Regions from separate parts of the Homo sapiens genome. Here region 1 is linked to region 2. The links are contacts of gene promoters, found by promoter capture Hi-C in blood cells and fetal thymus (Javierre and others, 2016). All regions are on one chromosome and are shown on one strand. Each heading gives the region's core, a stretch centred on a gene start or on the middle of the fragment in contact. The rest is flanking DNA. Distances are from core to core; before and after follow the strand shown. Region 1 has its middle 7.6 kb from the start of ZNF41. Region 2 holds the start of RP2 (RP2 activator of ARL3 GTPase).

What was found. The method cuts DNA at HindIII sites, captures the fragments that hold promoters and counts their contacts. A CHiCAGO score of 5 or more calls a contact.
Region 1: a contact is called between a fragment that was not itself captured here and the fragment with the promoter of RP2 in region 2, in 1 of 17 cell types (neutrophils). The highest score is 5.1, in neutrophils.

The regions. Positions count from the first base shown.
Region 1 is chrX:47,487,668-47,494,061 of GRCh38, forward strand. No RefSeq gene overlaps it. Among named protein-coding and RNA genes, the nearest start is that of ZNF41, 7.6 kb to the left of the region's middle. The HindIII fragment of the contact is 2,076 bases long and covers 1,616-3,691 here.
Region 2 is chrX:46,834,033-46,840,820 of GRCh38, forward strand. It overlaps RP2 (RP2 activator of ARL3 GTPase), which reads left to right and starts at 3,011. Exons shown (of 5, transcript NM_006915.3): 1 at 3,011-3,170. The coding sequence starts at 3,069. RefSeq lists a silencer at 2,613-2,692 and an enhancer at 3,003-3,142. The HindIII fragment of the contact is 11,862 bases long and covers 1-4,241 here.

The DNA of each region.
Region 1 (6,394 bases), core at 1,404-3,903, 650 kb after region 2:
GCCCAGCTAATTTTTGTATTTGTAGAGACTTGATTTCACCATGTTGCCCAGACTGATCTCAGACTCTTGACCTCAAGGGATCCACCTGCCTTGGCCTCCCAAAGTGCTGGGATTACAGGCATGAGCCACCACGCCTGGCCTGCTGTTTAAATTTAAGTTAAATAAAACTTAAAATTCGGTTTCTCAGTTGCCTAGCCACATTTCAAGTGCTCAGTACCCACATATGGCTAGTGGCTACTGTACTGGATGATGCTAAATATAGAAACATTTCCATCATTGCAGAATGATGGACAATGCTGTATTGGACAATGCTGAAATAGAGCCTCAGTTGTATTGGACAATGCTGAGATAAATCCTTCAAAATAATGTTGAGTAATAGATGTGATAGAAAACATCCCTATCTTGTTGCCAGTGTTCATGGAAATGATTTAAACATTTTACCGTTTAGTATAAAGTTTTCTGGCAAATTTTGGAAAATAGTGTTGTCCATTTTAAGTAGTTTTCTTTTTTTTTTTTTTGAGACAGAGTCTCGCTCTGTCACCCAGGCTGGAGTGCAGTGGTGACATCTCAGCTCACTGCAGCCTCCACCTCCCGGGTTCAAGTGATTCTCGTGCCTCAGCCTCCTGAGAAGCTGGGACTACAGATATACATCACCATGCCAGGCTAATTTTTATTTTTATAGAGATGAGGTCTCAGTCTGGTCTCAAACTCCCAGCTTCAAGTGATCCTCCCATCTTGGCCTCTCAAAGTCCTGGGATTACAGGCGTGAGCCACCCTGCCCCTCCAGTCTCTTTATTTTATTATTATTGTTATTTTTAGACTGAGTCTCACTCTATTGCCCAGGCTAGAGTGCAGTGGCGTGATCTCAGCTCACTACAACCTCCGCCTCCTGGGTTCAAGTGATTCTCCTGCCTCAGCCTCCCAAGTAGCTGGGATTACAGGTGCCTGCTACCATGCCCAGCTCATTTTTGTATTTCTAGTAGAGACAGGGTTTCACCATGTTGGCCAGGCTAGTCTCGAACTCCTGACCTCAGGTGATTCACCTGCCTCGGCCTCCCAGAGTGCTGGGATTACAGGCATGAGCCACCACACCCAGCCCCAGTCTCTTTATTTTAAATGTGCTTCTAGGCTGGGCATGGTGGCTCATGCCTGTAATCCCAGCACTTTGGGAGGCCGAGGTGGGTGGATCACCTGAGGTCAGGAGTTCGAGACCAGCCTGACCAACATAGAGAAACCCTGTCTCTACTAAAAATACAAAATTAGCCGGGCATGGTGGCGGATGCCTGTAATCCCAGCTATTTGGGAGGCTGAGGCAGGAGAATTGCTTGAACCCAGGAGGCGGAGGTTGCAGTGAGCCGAGATCACGCCATTGCACTCCAGCCCGGGCAACAAGAACAAAACTCCATCTCAAAAAAAAAAAAGTGCTTCTAGTAAATAACACATAACTTTTGTTTTATAACCCAATGTTACAGTCCCTCTCTTATAGGAGAACCCAATCCATTCAGTTTATCAGTGATATGCCTGTTTTTGTGTGTTCCATCGGACTTTGTTTCCTTTTTTCGATTTTGTTATTGTTTCCACCTTTTCAATTTTCTTACATTTGTTGGCTCTCTCAAGCTTCTGTTTATTCCCCTTCTCCCTCCCTTAGTAATTTGGAAGTTCTACTCTGCTTATCAATTCTTCTGATGATTATCTTTCCATTCCTTATAAGCATAATTCACATTTTCTCTATTGGTAGATTAAGCACACACATGGGCGCACACACACACACACACACACACACACACACACACACACAGGTGTGTTACTGGCCTTTACTCCTAATTTCTCAGGAGAATGAACCATTTAGAATGTTTTTACCTCTTCATTCTGCCCTCACCCAAAATTTCTGTTCTTAGAAAAGAACAGATCTTTTTTTTTCTGAGTTTTTTTTTTTTTTAATTAGAAGAGACGCTGGAAGCATGATGACAGCAGCGTAGTTTTCACTCTCTTGTTATGCCAGCATACAGACAGAGCAACCAGATGACAAAATCAAAACCCATGGGTAATATTTACGGTGAGGCCAGTAGACACAGTGTCCCCAGTGTGGCAGATTTTCTGCAGATAGGGCTGCCAGCTGTATTTCCAACCCTGTATGTGTTTGCCACCCTCCCATCAAGACATGGTGCCTATTTTTTCATCCTTTGTGTCTGGGCTGGCCTTGTGTTCCATTTGACCAATAAGGTATGGTAGAAATGGCATTCTGGGACTTCTGAGCCCAACCTTAAAAGACATTGAACTTTTGCTTTAGTGAGAGGGGAATCAAGATACCCTGTAAAGAGGTCTGTGCTGTCCTTCTGAAGACAGAGGTCCTGGAAGATGAGACACTTTTTAAAAATAGGTCATGCAGCGCTGTGGCAGCCACCCAGCTAGCTCAGTTGGTAGAGCATGAGACTCTTAAATATAGGCCATGTACATAACTGAGGCCCCAGCTGGCAGCTAGCACTGAGGTCTCAGTCGTATCATGAAATTATCTTGCATCCTCCAGTACCATTCCAGCTTCTCCAGGCATCATATAGAGAAGAAACAAGTCTGGGCGTGGTGGTTCACACCTGTAATCCCAGCACTTTGGTAGGCCGAAGCAGGCAGATCATCTGAAGCAGTGAAGCAAGGAGTTTGAGACCAGCCTGGGTAGCAAAGCAAGACCTCATCTCTACTAAAATATATTAGTCAGGCACAGTGGCACATGCTGGTAGTCCCAGCTACTCAGGAGGCTGAGGTGGGAGGATTGCTGTGCCCAGGATTTTGAGGCTGCAGTGAGCTATGATCGCACTACTGTACTCCAATGGTCAACAGAACAAGATCCCACCTCTTAAAAAAAAGAAGAAGAAGAAGAAACGAGCCATCCCCACTGAGCCATGCCCAGATTCGTGAGCAATAAAATAGTTATTAATCCACTAAGTTTTGGTGTGGTTTACTTACACAGCAATAGATAGCTGAAATATCCATGAATATCAAAATACACATGAGTAAGCCCAAGTCACCAACAGCCACAACAACTTCATGGTACAATTATCTGTATAGGAAAAAGCAGGGGGAAGTAAGCAGTATTTGCCAGACCTGAGAACACAATACCAAAACAGCCAATGGGCATGGCAGACCAACTTGAATTCAGCAGCTGAAACTGGGAGGAATTTTGCAAAATTCAGCAACGAGTGAGAGGGGTCTGCAGGAAGGTTGGAAGGGGTTGGAGCAGACTATAATAATTCCTAGGAACTCTTTTTTCTTTCTTTCTTTTCTTTTCTTTTCTTGGATCATGGCCGGAGTGCAGTGCCATGATCTTGGCTCACCTAAGCCTCAACCTCCCAGGCTCAAGCAATCCTCTCCCCGCAGCCTCCCGAATAGCTGAGACTACAGGCACATGCCATCACACTGAGCTCATTTCTTAAATTTTTAGTGGAGACAAAGTCTAGCTATGTTGCCCAGGCTGGTCTTGAACTCCTGAGCTCAAGTGATCCTCCTGCCTCAACTTCCCAAAATGCCAGGATTACAGGCATGAGCCACCATGCCCAGCCTTCTATGAACTCTTAAGACGGACTGTGCTTGGGGGGTTCCCAGGACCAACCTCAGGTTCACTGATTGACTATGAAGGACTCAGAATTCAGCAATGGAAAAGGGCACATAGGGCAGAGTCCAGGGGAAACAAGGATCAAGCTTTGGGTTCGCCCTTCTTGGTGTAGTCATACGGCCAGTGCTTAATTCTCCTAGCAAGATGTGGGGTAACATACATGAAATATTACCAACCATGGGCTCTCACTTTAGCCTCGGTGTCTGTGGTTTTTATTTGGAGTCAGTTTCAGGCATGGCCAACTACCTGTGTGGTTGACCTTACTCAGTCCTTCCAAGGTTCACGCTGATACTGCACAGCCCAAGACTCACCAAGAATCACAGCTATCTGGCATGGCTCATGCACTCAAGTAAACAAAGATTTCTTAACAGGCAGTATATTCCAAGGGTTTAGAGCAGTGGTCCCCAACCTTTTTGGCACCAGGGACCAGTTTTGTGGAAGACAATCTTTCCATGGACATGGAGCGGGGTGGAGGGGGATGGTTTTGGGATGAAACTGTTCCATCTCAGATCACCAGGCGTTAGATTCTCATAAGGAGTGTGCAACCTAGATCCCTTGCATGCGCAGTTCACAATAGAGTTTGTGCTCCTATGAGAATCTAATGCTGCCACTGATCTGACAGGAGGTGGAGCTCAAGCAGTATCGCTCCCTTGCCTGCTTCTCACCTCCTGCTGTGCGGCCCAGTTCCTAACAGGCCTTGGACTCATACTGGTCTGTGGACTGGCAGTTGGGGACCCCTGACTTACAGGTTATATCCCAGGAGCTGGGGCAAGGGCCAAACCTTTCCTTGGAATGCACAAGGTTTAAACAACCCAGACCTCCTAAGTTAATTCTTTACTGTATGATGACATACCAGGGCTGTCTTCTAGGACAGCAGACCACACTAAGAAACTACTGGGAGTGAAACAAAAATTAAGCAAGATAGGGCAATAGTAAATGTAATTTTTTTTGTTTTGTTTTTTTTCTGAGATGGTCTTGCTCTGTTGCCCAGGCTGGAGTGCAGTGGTGCGATCATAGCTCACTGCAGCCTCATCCTCCCCAGGCTCAAGTGATACTCCCACCTCAGCTTCCTGAGTAGCTGAGACAACGGGTGCATGCCATCACAGCTGGCTAATTTTTTGTATTTTTTTTGTAGAGATGGGGTTTCACTGTGTTGCCCAGGCTGGTCTCAAACTCCTGGGCTCAAGCAGTCCACCCACCTCGGCCTTTGAAATTGCTGGGATTATAGGCATTCGCCACTGCACCCAGCCTCTCATGTTTGTTTTGTTTTGTTTTTATTATTATTTAATTGACAAAGAAAAATTGTATATATTTATGGTATTAATAGAGGTAGAGGGAAAAAACAGTCTTTCTTTCTTTTCTTTTTTTTTTTGTTTTTTGAGATGGGGTCTTGCTCTGTCTCCCAGGCTGGAGTGCAGTGGCGTGATCTTGGCTCACTACAACCTCCACCTCCCGGGTTCAAGCGATTCTCCTGCCTCAGCCTCCTGAGTAGCTGGGATTACAGGCACCCGCCATCATGCCCGGCTAATTTTTGTATTTTTGTAGAGACGGGGTTTTACCATGTTGGCCAGGCTAGTCTTGAACTCTTGACCTCGGGTGATCTGCCCACCTCGGCCTCCCAAAGTGCTGGGATTACAGGCATGAGCCACCACGCCTGGCCGAAACAGTGTTTCTCTTACCCTAACACAGCCAACATAACACTTCTGACATTAGATTCTCCAGTGGATACCACCTGGGTGTCCTCCAATTCAATTCTGACGCTACCTGAAAATACTGCCATTAGAGGGCTCAATACCACAAGACTGCCCCCACTTCAGATGCCAATTGTAAGTCCCAGGTTGTGACCTACACGTCTGACCAACCAGCTATAAATCAATGACCCCCTCTTTGGGTTCAATTAATTTGCTAGAGCAGCTCCTAGAATTTAGGGAAACATTACTTACATTTACCTATTTATTATCAAGGGTATTACAAAGGATGCAGATGAATAGCAGATGGAAGAGATGCATAGAGTGAGGAATGGGGGAAGGGGTGCAGAGCTTCCATGCCCTCTCTAGTCATGCCACCCTCTAGGAATCTCACTGTGTTCAACTATCTGGAAGCTCATCCAAAGCCAGTTCTTTTGGGCTTTTATGGAAACTTCATTATGTAGGCATGATTGGTTATGTAATTGGCCATTGGTGATCAATTCAACATTTTGCCCTTCTCCCCTCCCCAGAGTTTATGGTGAGTCTGCAAGTCTCAATCCTGTAATCATGTCTTGGTCTTTCTGGTGACCATCCACCATCCTGAGGCTATCTGGGGGCCACCAGTCATCATCATCTCATTAGTGTAAAAAGTCACTCATCACTCTGGAGATTCCAAGGCTTTTAGGAACTCTGTGCCAGGAAATGGGGAATGTATTAGACTGTTCTTGTACTGCTATAAAGAAATACCTGAGACTGGGTGATTTATAAAGAAAAGAGGTTTAATTGGCTCACAGTTCCACAGGCTGTACAGGAAGCATAGCGGCTTCTGCTTCTGGGGAGGCCTCAGGAAACTTACAACCACGGCAGAAGTCAAAGGGGAAGCAGGCATGTCTTACATGGCCAGCGCATGAGGGAGAGAGGGTGGAGGTTCCATACACTTTTAAACAACCAGATCTTTTGAGAACTTAGCACCAAGGGGATGGTGCTAAGCCATTCATAAGAAACTGTCTCCATGATCCAGTCACCTTCCACCAGGGCCCTCTTCCAATACTGAGGATTACAATTCAACATGATATTTGGGCAGGGACACAGATCCAAA
Region 2 (6,788 bases), core at 1,761-4,260:
TGTGCAATAAAGGACGGGAAGTAAAAAGGGGAACATTCTTTATGTTCAAATTAAGTCGGCCGGGCACTGTAGCTCACGCCTGTAATCCCAACATTTTGGGAGGCCGAGGTGGGTGGATCACCTGAGGTCAGGAGATCGAGACCAGCCTGGCCAACATGGTGAAACCCCGTCTCTACTAAAAATACAAAAATTAGCCAGGTGTGGTTTTGTGCGCCTGTAGCCCCAGCTACTCGGGAGGCTGAGGCAGGAGAATTGCTTGAACCTGGGAGGTGGAGGTTGCAGTGAGCTGAGATCATGTCATTGCACTCCAGCCTGGGTGATAAAGCGAGACTCTGTCTCAAAAAAAAAAAAAAAAAAAAAAGTCAGAGGCTCATTTAGGATACAAACTAGATGTGAATAAGTATGGGAAATTTAAAAGATAACCAAATTTGAACCTGAAGTGATCAGCATTTGATATCCTACTGAGATGTCAAAATACTGTTTCTCAGAGAAACTGACTTACCTTTCTTTTCTATTACATAGGCAATGCATGTGTATTGCAGTAAAATTCGACCCAAGTATAACAAATGTTTATATTTAGTGTATATATCTTTAAATATATTCTGACGAACCCTATGCCATTTGCTTAGAACAGATCTGATCGTTCATATGCAATGCTTATGTCCTCAACGAGGCTATAAACTCCATGAGGAGAACCCCTTTACCATAAATCCACATGCCTCCCACCCCCACAGTTTGGTCACTTTCTTTGGGAAGGGATGGGGGAAGTTTATAAATGCTTCCTTCACTAGCACCCATGCATGCATTCATTCATTTGACAAACGTTGTATTGAGCACCTAGTATGGACTTGGGCCAGGTGTAGGAGATTCAAAGGTACATCCCTCCCCTCAGCTTTCCTCCCCACTGCCTTTTTTTTTTTTTTTTTTTGAGACGGAGTCTTGCTCTGTCGCCCAGGCTGGAGTGGAGTGGCGCCATCTCGGCTCACTGCAACCTCCGCCTTCTGGGTTCAAGCTATTCTCCTGCCTCAGCCTCCCGAGTAGGTGGGACTACAGGCGCCCGCCACCATGCCCGGTTAATTTTTGTATTTTTAGTAGAGATGAGGTTTCACCATATTGGCCAGGCTGGTCTCGAACTCCTGACCTTGTGATCCGCCCGCCTTGGCTTCCCAAAGTGCTGGGATTACAGGCGTGAGCCACCGTGCCCGCCCCCCCCGGCTCTGGTTTTTTTTTTTTTTTTTTTTTTTAGACAGAGTCTCCCTCTGTCGCCCAGGCTGGAGTGCAGCGGCGCCATCTTGGCTCACTGCAACCTCCACCTCCTGGGTTCAAGCAATTCTCCTGCCTCAGCCTCCCGAGTAGCTGGGACTACAGGCACACGCCACTACGCCCGGCTAATTTTTGTATTTTTAGTAGAGACGGGGTTTCACCAGACGGGGTTTCACTGTGTTGAGCAGGATGGTCTCGATCTCCTGACCTCATGATCCTACCGCCTCGGCCTCCCAAAGTGCTGGGATGACAGCCGTGAGCCACCGCGCCCGGCCCTGCATGCCCTTTATGACATACCTTTTAGGCCAGGCGCGGTGGCTCATGCCTGTCATCCCAGCACTTTGGGAGGCCGAGGCGGGCAGATCACCTGAGGTCAGGAGATCGAGACCAGCCTGCCCAACATGGTGAAACCCCGTCTCTACTAAAAATACAAAAATTAGCCGGGCGTAGTGGCAGGCGCCTGCAGTCCCAGCTACTCTGGAGGCTGAGGCAGGATAATCACTTGAACCCGGGAGGCGGAGGTTGCAGTGAGCCGAGATGGCACTGCTGCACTCCAGCCTGGGCGACAAGAGCAAAAACTCCATCAAAAAAAAAAAAAAAAAAAAAAGATATACCTTTTTGATCTCAAGAAAGTCACAGTTCAAATAGGGAAACAATACACAATTAACTATTTTACTAAGTACTTGTGCAATTTTAGAGCCATATGTGAAAGTCTTAAGAAAACACAGAAGCAGCCTGGGGTGCGGTGGGTCCTGCCTGTAATCCCAGCACCTTGAGAGGCTGAGGCAGGATGATCGCTTGGGCCCAGGAGTTCAAGACCAGCCTGGGCGACATAGCAAGACCCCATTTCTACAAAAGTAAAAAAAAAAAAAAATAGGTGGGCATGGTGGTGCTTGCTTGTAGTTCCAGCTACTCAGGAAGGAGGCTGAGGCAGGAGGATCGCTTGAGCCCAGGAAGTCAAGGTTGCAAAGTTGCAAGGTTGCAGTGAGTTATGATTGTGCCACTGCAGCCTGAGTGACATAGCGAGACCCTGTGAAAGAAAAAGAAAGAAAGAAAGAAAGAAAGAAAGAAAGAAAGAAAGAAAGAAAGAAAGAAAGAAAGAAAGAGCACAGAAGAGGATTGGGAGGTTATGGGGTACAATTCTTGAGGGGGTGACCCTGGCCAGGCGATGAGAGGGCGGTAGGAAGGGTGATGAGGGGAGAAGAGGATTTAGAAATACAAATTTCAGGGTCTTCTTGTGTCAGCGGGAATTTCTGTCCCTCACAACTTTCATCATAAGATAAATCTAATGTTCAACTAGAGATCTCTCCCGCGCCTTGAACTTGCAAATTTATGAATCAGGGGCAAAAAAAACCCGGATACCGAGCCTGGCCTCCCACCAGCTAGAGAACCCACCAAGTTCCAGGAGGGGCGGGGCCGAGGGCGGTCCGTGCCACAGCTGTGGGCGGGGTTGTCCGTGCTTGCGCCAGAGCCGGCCCGCCCCGCCGCCAGGGGCTGTCGCAGGAGCCAGGCGTGGATTGGTATGTGGGTATGTCGGCCTCTCTTCATAGGCCGCGCAGGATTGCTCGAGAGGCTTTGATTGGCTCAACAGGCGCTGAGCGTTCATTGGCTGCGCTGGGTCGTCAGGGCGACGAAAAAGGGGAAGGGGTGCTGGGCCTGGCGGGCAAACTAAGGCTGCGGACCGTTGGGCGGTTCCGCGGGGCGTTGTCCGGAGAGCTGCGAGGCCGGGGTTCCCAGGGTTCACGCCACACTCTAGGAAGTGCCTGAGCTAGTGAGCTGGCCAACGAGCTCCGCGGGCTGGGACCATGGGCTGCTTCTTCTCCAAGAGACGGAAGGCTGACAAGGAGTCGCGGCCCGAGAACGAGGAGGAGCGGCCAAAGCAGTACAGCTGGGATCAGCGCGAGAAGGTAATGAAAGTCGTGTAGCCGCCGTCTCAGCCTCCCTGAGCCGCTCCGCCAGGTCCCTTACGGCCCGGGACCGCTGAGGGGGCCGACCCAACTGCTGCCGCACTCTCTTGAACGCGGATAGCTGAAGTCGGGGTGCACGACTTTTTTGGGGAGCGGGGACGTGAAGTACAGCGCTAGAGAGGCCGCCCAGAGGGCTGTGGAGCTCCGGAAGGAGCCTTAGGAGTTTGTTGTCGTGGTAGACAGACTCCCCCGGGAGCTTTCTCTGACTCCGAACCCTGCCTTGCTCTGACTTCCTGTTGGAGATGATCGATTCGAGAGAGGGAAAGAGCCGAGAACGCCCTGAATCTCAAATCACCTCGTTTCACCCACCGGCAGCGTCAAGCGGGGTTTTGTCCAGTCGTCGAGTTACGTATATGGGACCGATTCTCATCTCTTCCGGGGCTTAATGTTCTGTGGCTGTTTTCTCTTTTGTCTGCCCTCCCCGGCAAATCTCTTTGGTGCCTCATGATATATTTCACTGCTGAATTTTCTCAATTACCAAGTGGACTGTTTAATGTACAGCTTTACTCCCCCTCCTCTTCCAGTTATCCGAAAGAAATAATGAATATCGCATCAGTCTTGGAATGTGTATTAAGACTGTAAGGTGAAAATAAGCGGCATAAACCAGGCAGTATTTTACTGCTGGTTTAAATGAATGAAAACGCCCTTATTTTTATTTTTGTATATAGCCAGAAACGAAAAACCTTTGAAAACCTCCATTAGTCTTACACAAAACACACTCGGTCATACATTTCATAATAGTTCCTCTTTCTACATAGTTCTCCATTTGTGCTTACTAAACTACTTTGATGGACTTATCAATTATTTCTCCCAAACAAAATGAGAGATTTTTCAAATGGGTATTATGAACAGTTAACTCTTTGCTTAAGGCAACATATCTTTACCCAAGATTACTTTATAATAAATGTATTAACGTTTTGGAATCACAGACCTTTCTGCATGATTTCCAATCCCCAGCAGAATGTATTCAGGTAAGCTCTGGTCTCTAAGAGTCAGAGTTAGGAAATTGAAAGCTTTTTGCAGCTTTTCTCAGCCCCGTCTTTCTGCCCCTACTTCTCATACACACCCTTCTTGGGTCACATGGTACCTTTATTCTCTGTTAGTCATACTCGATAGTAGCATTTTATAATGTAGGGGAAGAAAGTACTATGCTTTCTATTTCACAAGAAGATTGCACCTGCCATTTAAAGTTATCTGATGGGCGGTTTTTAAAAGATATTGTTTTCCTCAGCCTTTGGCTTTCTAACAATGTTCTTTTAGCTTGAATTGTCTGCCTTAGAGAAAGTTGCATATTTCATTTTTATTTTAGTTTTTTCTTTTGAACTCAGGCTAAATCTAAACTAAATAAAATGCCTTTTTTATTTATAGTAGTCTTGGCTGCCTATGACTCATCGTTTCACAATAAATTGTTTTACAGTTAATGTTTATTAACATAATATTCAGGTTAGTTAGGACTTCTCATGTTAATCCTTCTTTTAGATAAGTGTGTGTGTCCTGTGATTTTTTTTCTTCTTTTGCCCATTGGCTAAGTAAATGCATTGAGAAATATAACATTGGACACCAACATCTAAGCTTTTTCCCCACAAATGAGTGTGTAATAAACTTTCAATTGTAGAAACTGTTTTGAGCTTACAGAGAACCTTTTTTTTTGAGAACACTACTAAGTTCTGTAGTTGTAGAGTTGTAAGAGATGTTATTGGATATATAAAATAAGCTCATGCTTCTGAGTGTGTGTATAATAAAAGTTAAAATCTTGATCAACTCAGCCAATCAAAATGAGAATTTCTAACCAAATGAGCATTCTGAAAAAAACCCCAGTTTTAAAATATTTTGGACTGTTGAAGAGAATTACCAGCTTACATTTTGAGACAATGCAGATACCACATTTCCCAACATAGCTTTTTCTTTTTAGTTTTTTTTTCTTTTGGAATTACTAGGAATTCTTTCTAAGTTGCCTCATTTTGATAGCTTGTTAAATTTTATACAATTTAAAATATTTTTTTCTAGGGCCAGGCATGGTGACTCATGCCTGTAATCCCAGGACTTTGGGAGGCCAAGGCTGGTGGCTCTCTTGAGCCCAGGAGTTCCAGACCAGCCTGGGCAATATGGCGAAACCTCATTCCTACTAAAAATACAAAAATTAGTGGGGCATGGTGGTGCACACCTGTAGTCCCAGCTACTCAGTAGGCTGAGGTGGGAGGATCACCTGAGCCTGGGACTTAGAGGCTGCAATGAGTCATGATCGGGCCACTGCCCTCCAGCTTGGGCAACAGAGTGAGACCCTGTTTCCAAAAAAAAAAAATAAATAAATAAAATATTTTTTCCTAGTTCCTTGCCTCCCGTGAGGTTAATTTGGGCTAGTGTGCAAATGTTCTGTATTAGTCCAATGATACGTTTACTGAGCATGGCCTTGCTTGCTCCTAGAAGATTTCAGTTGTACCTTAAAAGGAACAGATTGCAAATACAGCCCAGAGAACATAAATGAGATATGATGCATGCATATTAATAGAAATGATTTATATTAAAAGTTTAGGCTTCTGGAATGTGGTTATGGATTATAGCATATACAGTTTTAAAGTTATATCAGACAATTACCATTCAACTTGTAAGACTTTTACATGTAAAAACAAAATGGGTTGCCTGAAAAATTTCCTTGCAGCTTAGAAAAGGGTGTTTACATTTTTCCTTAGGTTGTGTAATCAGAGTATCTTTTTTTGATGTTTTCTTTTTGAGATGGAGTCTGGCTCTGTCATCGCCCAGGCTGGAATGCAGTGGCGCGATCTCGGCTCACTGCAACCTCTGCCTCCTGGGTTCAAGCGATTCTCCAGCCTCAGCCTCCTGAGTAGCTGGAATTACAGGCGTGCACCACCACGCCTGGCTAATTTTTGTATATTTTTAGTAGAGACAGGGTTTCACCTTGTTGGCCAGGCTAGTCCTGAACTCCTGACCTCAGGTGATCCACCTGCCTCAGCCTCCCAAAGTGCTGGGATTACAGGCGTGAGCCACCGCTCCCAGCCCAGAGTATCTTTATTGAAGGGCACCCCTTGGGTTTTGGGGTTTGAGTTGTGTAATTGGGTCAGTCTTAGGGGACTGAAGCTGGGAGAAATTGTCTCATTTAGAAGGAATGTCTGGGGACTAAGCATTGTCATAGCAACTGACATACTGTAGTCAACAGTGTAAGAAGCTCATTTTCTATTGCTACTGACTTTGAAAAAGAAAAAAGATTACAATTCTTACACTGATGTGATGAGAAATATTTTTGGATTGTAAGACTTGTGTTTAAATTATTTCAAAAGAAATGTTTTTATCCTTATCTGTATGCTGCCACCCATAGGTAGGCAAATTATTCAGTATGTATGTACTCAAACACCAAGTAAGTCTCAAAATTATAAGACTTATCCCTGCCCTAAAAGAGTTTACTGGCTTTCTGGAGTTAAAACAGGAAACATTTAAGTACATATGAGGTGAGGAAGAGTGATACGGAAAAGTAGTTTTCATCTTCCAGTATTCATGCCCATACTTTTCCTCCTAGATAATAGAAATGAGGATTAACTCTAA